Linked DNA regions of Homo sapiens: all the other regions are linked to region 3. Evidence: promoter capture Hi-C in human tissues and cell types (Jung and others, 2019). All regions are on one chromosome and are shown on one strand. The core of a region is centred on a gene start or on the middle of the fragment in contact, and the rest is flanking DNA. Distances in the headings are between cores, read along the strand shown. Region 1 overlaps COPS8-DT (COPS8 divergent transcript). Region 2 overlaps UBE2F (ubiquitin conjugating enzyme E2 F (putative)). Region 3 holds the start of PRLH (prolactin releasing hormone).

Evidence for each region. Contacts are between HindIII fragments. The study calls those that stand out against the background at their distance.
Region 1: a contact is called between a fragment that was not itself captured here and the fragment with the promoter of PRLH in region 3, in 1 of the 25 tissues and cell types used here (dorsolateral prefrontal cortex).
Region 2: a fragment that was not itself captured here is called in contact with the fragment with the promoter of PRLH in region 3 in 1 of the 25 tissues and cell types used here (liver).

What each region holds. Positions count from the first base shown.
Region 1 is chr2:237,073,455-237,076,325 of GRCh38, forward strand. The region is part of intron 1 of COPS8-DT (COPS8 divergent transcript); the gene reads right to left. Among named protein-coding and RNA genes, the nearest start is that of COPS8-DT, 11 kb to the right of the region's middle. RefSeq lists an enhancer at 2,176-2,745. The HindIII fragment of the contact is 3,711 bases long and covers 1-2,871 here.
Region 2 is chr2:238,007,339-238,010,431 of GRCh38, forward strand. The region is part of intron 4 of UBE2F (ubiquitin conjugating enzyme E2 F (putative)); the gene reads left to right. All of the region lies in intron 4 of UBE2F-SCLY (UBE2F-SCLY readthrough (NMD candidate)), which reads left to right. Among named protein-coding and RNA genes, the nearest start is that of UBE2F, 42 kb to the left of the region's middle. The HindIII fragment of the contact is 3,461 bases long and covers 104-3,093 here.
Region 3 is chr2:237,565,080-237,568,143 of GRCh38, forward strand. PRLH (prolactin releasing hormone) reads left to right here and starts at 1,495. Exons shown (of 2, transcript NM_015893.1): 1 at 1,495-1,594; 2 at 1,933-2,096. The coding sequence starts at 1,495. The coding sequence ends at 2,096. The HindIII fragment of the contact is 10,563 bases long and covers 1-3,064 here.

The DNA of each region.
Region 1 (2,871 bases), core at 347-2,846, 490 kb before region 3:
AGAAATCTGGGGCAAATAATTTGGTAGCAGCCTTCATTTTAGCACAGAAATGCCGACAAGTTTCTTCTTGCACGCCCACTCTGATCTTTTGGTAGAAGCAGGCTGAAGTTATTTGTTGGGAGGACTCTGAAGCCATGCCCAGGCTCCACGGGAAAGTCAGCTGTGATTGACTAGAAGAGAGCTGCCTGCACACAAGAAAACTATGCAAAAAGGCTGGGCGTGGAGGAAATGACCTAACACAACAGGAGAAAATCCGAGAGAACGAGATAAGAGTACTAGAGCCTGAACCCAGTGGGAATGGATAGGGTTCTGAGTGATTCTGTGGGCATGGAAGAATGTGGAAGATAGAAGTAATCAGCATAAACAAGTAGGAAGTATTGCAGGACAGAAAACAGATGTCTCAGGCAGACAGATGATACTGGGGAGGGCAACTATAAAGAGAGAAGGGGACTCCTTGGAGGTCAACATGGCTGTCCTGTCCCTGGCTCTCCTGGCCCGGCCCCTGAACTGAGATCCAGGAGAGCAAGTTATGAGGGGAGAGCAGCATCTGGACATGCTTTTGTCCTCTTTGTCAGAATTGCCATGGGAGCTGAAAGCATCTGCCCAGCTGATATGCTTTGGATCTGTCCCGCCAAATCTCATGTCTGATTGTAATCCCCAGTGTTGGAAGTGGGGCCTGGTGGGAGGTGGTTGGATCACAGGGGTGGATTTCTCATGAATGGTTTAGCACCATTGCCTTGGTGGTGTTCTCGCGATAGTGAGTGAGTTCTCCTGAGATCTGGGTGTTTAAAAGTGTGTGGCATCTCTTCACTCTCTCTTGCTCCTGCTCCCACCATGAGAGACACCTGTTCCCCCTTTGCCTTCTGCCATGATTGTAAGTTTCCTAAGGCTTCCCCAGAAGCCAAGCTGATGCCAGAATCATGCTTCCTCTACAGCCTGTGGAACTGTGAGCCAATTAAACCTCTTTTTTAAAATAAACCACCCAGTCTCAGGTATTTATAGCAGTGTGAGAACAGAATCATACAGGATCCCACTGCTTGAGTCATAGAAGGCAAAAGGAAAAGAGCAAGAGTGGATGGAAAACAAGGAAGGTAAAAGCAAGGTGAGATCCTGTGCTCAGGGAATAAAGTAAAGAAAAGTGAGCACACTTAGCATTCATTCAACAAACATTTATGCAACGCCTGCTATGTGCAGTCCTCATAATACAGCAAGCTTCATTGAGATCACAGAATTAAAATAAAACTAGAAATCAAAAGCATAATGACCTGTTCTATATTTCCACTCACGCCGTTAGCCACGACATATGTCCTGACTCAGGAAACAGCTAATGAGTGTGAGAGCGGCCTTCAATGATGTCATGTGCCTGGAAGCCACCCTGCTCTAGAAGCACCATCGCTCTGCTCTCAGGTCGCTGCCTGCCTGTGCTCTTCCTCCATGCTTTATTTATAACCCCTTTGCCTTTGCCTCTACCACTGCCATCATTTTTCACAGCTTTTCTTTATTCCTCCAAATTTCCCCTAACATGTATCTGCCCTTAGCTCCAGGGCCCTTCTGAAGTTTTGCAAAAATGTTCTCTTTTATTATTCACTTGCCAACACAAGCATTAGTAAAAAGGAGGAGAAAAAAAAGAAAGAAAAGTGCCCTATTTTTAAAGTTTGAAATGTTAAAGTTGTCTAAGATTAGAAGAACAAAATCTTCATTGATTTTATAATATTGTAAGGAGATACTTTTCACCCATAATCTAGCTCTTTAAGCTTATCGTAATGTTCATTTGCATGTTTCCTTTCAACATTTCCCCAAAAATCTAGTCTGGGTTATGATATATAATAACCAAGAGGTATACACAATATTATTTTTCATGTTTTTTCAAAGTTATTTCAGAAACACTACTTTTACATAGACTTCATATTTATGAATTTAATAGCTATTGTACTTTATGCTGCTGTCCCATTTTTAGCTGTAGCTTATTTCCTCTTTTTAATAACTTCCTCAGGATAACTTCCCAGAGCCAGAACACTAAGTCCAAGGCTAAGTCTGTTTCATTGCCCTCATTGTGTATTGTTACCTGGCTTTCCAAACGGGTAGCATCTACTGCCACTGGGGATGACATTGCCAAGAGATCCATTGGAAAATTCGCTGGTCATGGACATCAATGTCCAATGGCAATGGTCCAATGGCAGCATCCCCCAAACTCCAGTTCCTCCAGAGGACAACTCATCAGAATTAGTAATCTCCTCTAGTCTGCTGAATGTTCAATGCCTCAGGAATAATAATAATAATAAATGCATCCCATTCTTTCCCTATCTGTTCTCACCCCAGTGACCCCTGCTCCAAGAGGCAGCCACTCATGCTGTGGGGCAGGGTTGGTTTCCACCCTAAGCAGAAAGCCCAGGACTCCTGGCCACAAGGAGGGCTGGCTCAGGGCTGGCCTATTTCTGCAGCTGCTTTCCAGCAACTCTGACACAGACCCTTTTTGGCAGAGCCATCGTCATCGCCTGGGGCCCATCTTCTAGCCTCAGGTCCTGCGGCCTCCAGCCAGGTGAACCATCTGGAAATCTTTCTCACTGATATCCATGAACTCTCCACCTCTTGCCTGCCTGCCTGGCTGGACTCTAAACCTGATACACTTCATGGCTGCAAATGATCTGTGTTTACTTTTCTTCTTGTGGGTTTGGCAGGGGCTAATGTCACATTCCTCTCTTCTGTAGGTGACCTTCCTGCCTGGGGCTTCCGGGGCTTGGTGACACATGCCCTGCAGCACAGAGGCCACTCTACCATCACTGGGGCCCCAACCACACAGTCACCAGACTAGGTGCGCTGAGTGTCTTCCATTTGTCCCTCCCATCCACTCTCCATGCTCTCCTCCCCATT
Region 2 (3,093 bases), core at 584-3,083, 440 kb after region 3:
CTCGAACTCCTGACCTCAGGTAATCTGCCCACCTTGGTCTCCCAAAGTGCTGGGATTACAGGCGTGAGCCACTGAGTCCGGCCTTGCTATAGGGTTTTTGCAGATGCCCTTTATCAGGTTGAGAAGTTCTTTTCTACTTCTTGTTTGCATATATACATATATATGTATATGTATGTATGTATTTTTTTTTTAATCATGAATGGATGCTTTTTTCCTCCCAAACCAAAAATGGCCAATAATGAATGGATGCTTAATTTGCCAAATGCTTTTTCTGCATCTACTGAGGTGATCATAATGGTTTTTCTGTTTTGGTCTGTTGATAAGGTAAATTACATTAATAGATTATTTTTCAAATGTTGAACCAAAGCTGCATTTGTGAGATAAACCATAATTCATCATGTATTATGTGTTAATGGTTTCATATATTGCTCAGTTTGATATATTAGTATTTTGTTAAGAATTTTTACAAATCCTTACCTGTCTGTGAGGGATATTTGTAGTTTTTTTTGTAATGAGTTGCCTAATTTTGGTGTCAAGGTAATGCATTCTGGTCTTTGAATGCATTTGGGGAGTGTCCTATTCTCTGGAAGAGTTTGTGTAAAATTAGTATTAATTAGTTAATTGATTTTTTTTTAGACAAGGTCTTACTCTCTTGCCCAGGCTGAAGCACAGTGGCACGATCACGCCTCACTGCAGCCTCAACATCCTGGGCTCAAGCAGTCCTCCCGCCTCAGGCTCCCAGGTAACTGGGACTACAGATGCCCATCGTCTGTAGTGGGCAGATGCACTACCATGTCCAGCTAATTATTTTTTGTAGAGACGGGGGTCTCACTATGTTGCCCAGGCTGGTCTCGAACCCTTGGGCTCAAGTGATCCTCCCAAAGTGCTGAGATTACAGGTGTGAGCCACTGTGCCTGGCCTATTAATTCTTTATTCAGTGGTAGAATTCACCTGTGAAGCCACCTGTCTCTGGAATTTTGTTTTGTTGTGGTAAGATTTTAAGTATAAACACAATTTCTAATAGATATAGGGCTGCCTAGGTTATTCTTGAGTGGGCTTCACTAATTTGTGTCCTTCAAGGGATTTGCTCATATCATCTGCATTTTTCAATTTATTGATATAATGTTCTTAGTATCATCTTATCCTATCCTTTTAAGTTCTGTAGAGTTTGTGTTGTATCTCCTCTTTAATTACTGATGTTGTAATTTTTGTCTTTTTCTCTTGATCAGGTTAATGAGAAGATTGTCAATTTTTTGACCTTTGCAAAGAACCTACTTTTAGGTTCATTGATTTTGCCCTGTTGTTTTTTGAATTTTGTTCATGTCTTTGTTATTTCCCTCCTCTTTATTTCCAGTTTAATTTGCTCTTCTTTTTCTGATGTTTAAGATGGAAGCTTAGACAAACAGTAGTATGTTTCCATTTCCCAGCTCAACCTTTATATTATAGTTCTCATTTGTTTTACTTTTACATATGTTGTAACCCAGAATATATTATCTGTGCTTTACAGTCTGTTTTTAAAATATATGTCTCCACATACTTAACATTTATGACCCTCATTCCCTTTTGTAGATCTAGATTTCTCCTCTCTGTTATTTTCCTTCTGCCTAAAGAACATCCTTGAAGATTTTTTTGTAGTGCAGATTTGCTTGTGATGAATTCTGTCAAGTGTTGCTGAAGTTTGAATTCTTAAGTTGACAGTTTCAGCATTTTAAGGATATCATTCTACTGCCTTCTGTATTTTTTCCTTACAAGTTAGTGGTGATTCTTTGTTCCACTTTATGCGATGTGCATTTTATTCTCTGGCTGCTTTTAAGATTTTCTCCTTATCACTGCTTTCAGCAGTTTGATTATAATGTGCTTTGAAGTGGTTTTTTCTTTTTATCACACTTGGGGTTTATTAAGCTTTTTGGATCTGTGAGTTATAGTTTTCATCCAATTTAGAAATAATTTGGCCAACATTTCTTTAAATATTTTTCTGTGATCGTTTTCTGGCACTCTAGTTTATATATCTATATCATATATGTCTTACATATAGATTACTTCTACGTGTAAATTATACCTCCATTGGGTCGCAGGTCTTCGTTCACTTTTCTTTCTGTGCCTCATTTTGGACAGTTTGTTTTTCTGCAATGTCTCATTTGCTGTTAAGCGCATCCAGTGAATTTTTCATTTCAGATACTGTATTTTCTAGCTGTTGACGTTCCATTTGGTGCTTTCCCCGTAACCGTCCATTTCTTTCCTCATTATGTTCATGTTTTCCTCTAAGTCTCAGCATCTCTATACAATAGCTGTCATTGTGCCTTTGTCTGCAGCCCTGCATCCCAGAGTCCTGGCCACTCCCTGGTGCCCATGTCTGTGCTGCCTCCTGCCTCCGCTCACACTCACTTCCTCTTCTCCACCATCTGTCTCTGTCTCTTCTCTTTCAACAGTCTGATCTGAGATGGATCAGAGCCTTTTAAGTTTAAAGTTTGCATAGGATGTCACTTCCAGGGTGCTGTAAATATTGACATTTAAAAATGAAAGTCTTATATTACTCTTTGAAATGTTTCCAGTGTAGAATATAAATACCACAGATATGCCCACCACCACAGATACTCCCATCATCACAGTTTTTTGTTTTTTTGTTTTTTTGTTTATTTTGATGTGAATAAGCTCTACTTCACTGGCTGGAAAACCTTTGCTAGTTTTTCTCCTGGCACTCATGTTTTCATTCCACTTGTTCCCTTGAATTGCACCCTAATGTAAACATTTTTATGCTTTTAAGTATTTTATTTGTCATTTTTTTATACTCTTCTGTAACTAGATATACAGGTAGATAGATAGATTGAGCTTTATTTATTTGGTTTTTTTTTCGATACAGAGTCTTGCTTTATTGCCCAGGCTGGAGTGCAGTGGCACAATCTTGGCTCACTGCAACCTCTGCCTCCCGGGTTCAAGTAGTTCTTCTGCCTCAGCCTCCCAAGTAGCTGGGAATACAAGTACCCGCCACTATGCCCGACTGATTTTTGTATTCTTAGTATAGACGGGTTTCACCATGTTGGCCAGGCTGGTCTCGAACTCTTGACCTTGTGATCCGCCTGCCTTGGCCTCCCA
Region 3 (3,064 bases), core at 245-2,744:
GCCCCCCTTTATAACGCGTAGCTCACACCTCCTGAGGGCTTTCTGATCATGAGCATCAATGTACATGTGACCGATCCCGTTAGAGGCTGACGCGCACAGAAGCATCTCACTTAACACCTCATTGCGCAGAGGAGAGAATGGGGTCACAGGCGGGTGGGGGACCATGCAGAGAGCCAGGTTTAACTGCTGTTTCTGTGCTTATTCCCACCTCAGCACAGATCAGAGGAACACGTGGAGATCTATGTGGCTATGTGCACGCGCACATCTACACACATACATACACATCTACACACTCACACACATCTACACACATACATACACTCACACACAACTACACACACATCTACACACATACACACACATCTACACTCATACACATCTACACACACTCACACACATCTACACACGTACACACACACATCTACACACACATCTACACACATACACATCTACACACATACATACACACATCTACACACATACACTCACACACCTACACTCATACACACATACACTCACACACACATCTACACATGTACACTCACACACCTACACACATACACATCTACACACACTCACACACACATCGACACACACACATCTACACACATATCTACACACATACACACATCTACACACATACACACACACACAGCTACACACACATCTACACATACACACACATCTACACACATACTCACACAACTACACACACATCCACACACATACATACACTCACACACAACTACACACACCTACACATACACACATCTACACACACACATCTACACACATACACACAAACCTACACACATACACACATCTACACACAGACACATCTGCACACATACACACGCATCTACCCAATACACACAGACACACTACACACATACACACACATCTACACACACACACATCTGCACACATACACACATCACACACTCACACACATCTGCACACATACACACACATCTACACACATACACACAAACCTACACACATACACACATCTACACACAGACACATCTGCACACATACACACGCATCTACACAATACACACAGACACATCTACACACATACACACACATCTACACACATACACACATCTGCACACATACACACATCTACACACATACACTCACACACATCTGCACACATACACACACATCTACACACATACACACACACCTGCACACATACACACATCTACACACATACACACACATATCTGCACACATACACACACACAGGCACCCATGTGCACACACCACACCCTCTTGTACACATATACATACACAGCTGTGCACTCACATGCACACAGGCTCATGCACATACTTCTCTCTCACACACAGTGCTCACTCTACCCAAGGTCCCAGCTCCGTGCACACGCACCCTGATGCCTGTGTGACGCTGCTCCTGCCCCTTCTCCCCCAGGCCGTGTCCTCCTCATTTGGATCTCCCCTCCAGCGGGGCCTCCTCGGAGGAGCCAAGGGATGAAGGTGCTGAGGGCCTGGCTCCTGTGCCTGCTGATGCTGGGCCTGGCCCTGCGGGGAGCTGCAAGTCGTACCCATCGGCACTCCATGGAGATCCGCAGTGAGTGCCTGGACCCCTGTCAGCCTCCCTTACCCCACCCTGCCTCACCCCAGAACCTAGTGCAGCCTGGTCGCTCGAGAACCTGGCAGGAACGGGGTGCGCGGGAGGAAAGGGAAGTCAGTCTTGGTGCTTTTTTGAACTCCTGCTTCCCAAAGCCAGCCCACGCCCAGAAATGGCCTCGCCAGAACCTCTGGGTGCCTGTTCCTCGGGTGGCTCCCAGCATGGCCTGGCGACTGGGCTGAGAGGCCCTGCCTGTGCACTCTGCCCCGCTGCCTCTGGGAGCACAGCACACCCTGGGGACACGTGCCCATGGTCTGCTCCAGCTCTTTCCTTTCCAGCCCCTGACATCAATCCTGCCTGGTACGCCAGTCGCGGGATCAGGCCTGTGGGCCGCTTCGGTCGGAGGAGGGCAACCCTGGGGGACGTCCCCAAGCCTGGCCTGCGACCCCGGCTGACCTGCTTCCCCCTGGAAGGCGGTGCTATGTCGTCCCAGGATGGCTGACAGCCAGCTTGTCAAGAAACTCACTCTGGAGCCTCCCCCACCCCACCCTCTCCTCTCCTTCGGGCTCCTTTCCCTTCAATCCTAATAAAAGCTCTGGTCTTCAGTTACACATTCACGACTGTGTGGTGGTGACTCTGAAGTTGTTCCCTCCTGGGACATTAGACTAGAAAGAACCTCAGAGCCCAGCAACTTCTTTGGAAGAAAAGGCTTTGTGACTTGGCAGAGGGCACTTGGCACTGAGTTGGGGCGCTGGGTCTACCCTTGGTCACCGGCAGCCCACAGCCACCCCCACACCCAAGCTGCCCTGAGTGGCTGCCCAGGCTGTCCACTGCAGAAGGCCAGGAGGTGCCACGCGTCATACTCTGCAGGACACTGTCCCCATAGGACGGTAGCACAGCCCCCAGCCTGAGCCCTGGGCAGCCCCTCAACTTCAGTCCTTTTTATTTAGACTATTTTTCAGAGCAGCTTTAGGTTCACAGCAAAATTGAGTAGAAGGTACAGAAAGTTCCCATCCACCCCCTTCCCCCACATCCGCACAGCCTCCCCCATGATCAACACCCCCACCGAGGGTGCTTTTGTCCCAGTCGAGGAACCCACACTGACACATCCCCATCCCCAACCAGCGTATGTCAGAGCCCACTCTCCACGCTGTGCGTCCTGTGGGTTTGCACAAATGTACAACAACACGATGTGGCATCACGCAGAGTCGTTTAACTGTCCTAGAAGTCCTCTGGGCTCCCCCTACTCATCCCTGCACCCCGCAACCCCTACAACTGCTAGTCCTCTCATTGCAGTCTGTCTTGCCTCCCTCTTACTCAGGGAAGATGCATCATGGATTGTTTCTGACCCATGGCAGGGAGACTTGAACCTAGATTGCTCCCACGCCACGTGCGTCCCTTTCAAATCACACGGGGATGTCTCCACATCCTGCCTCAGGTGTAGCTTAGGTTGGCATTGGGGGCACACTT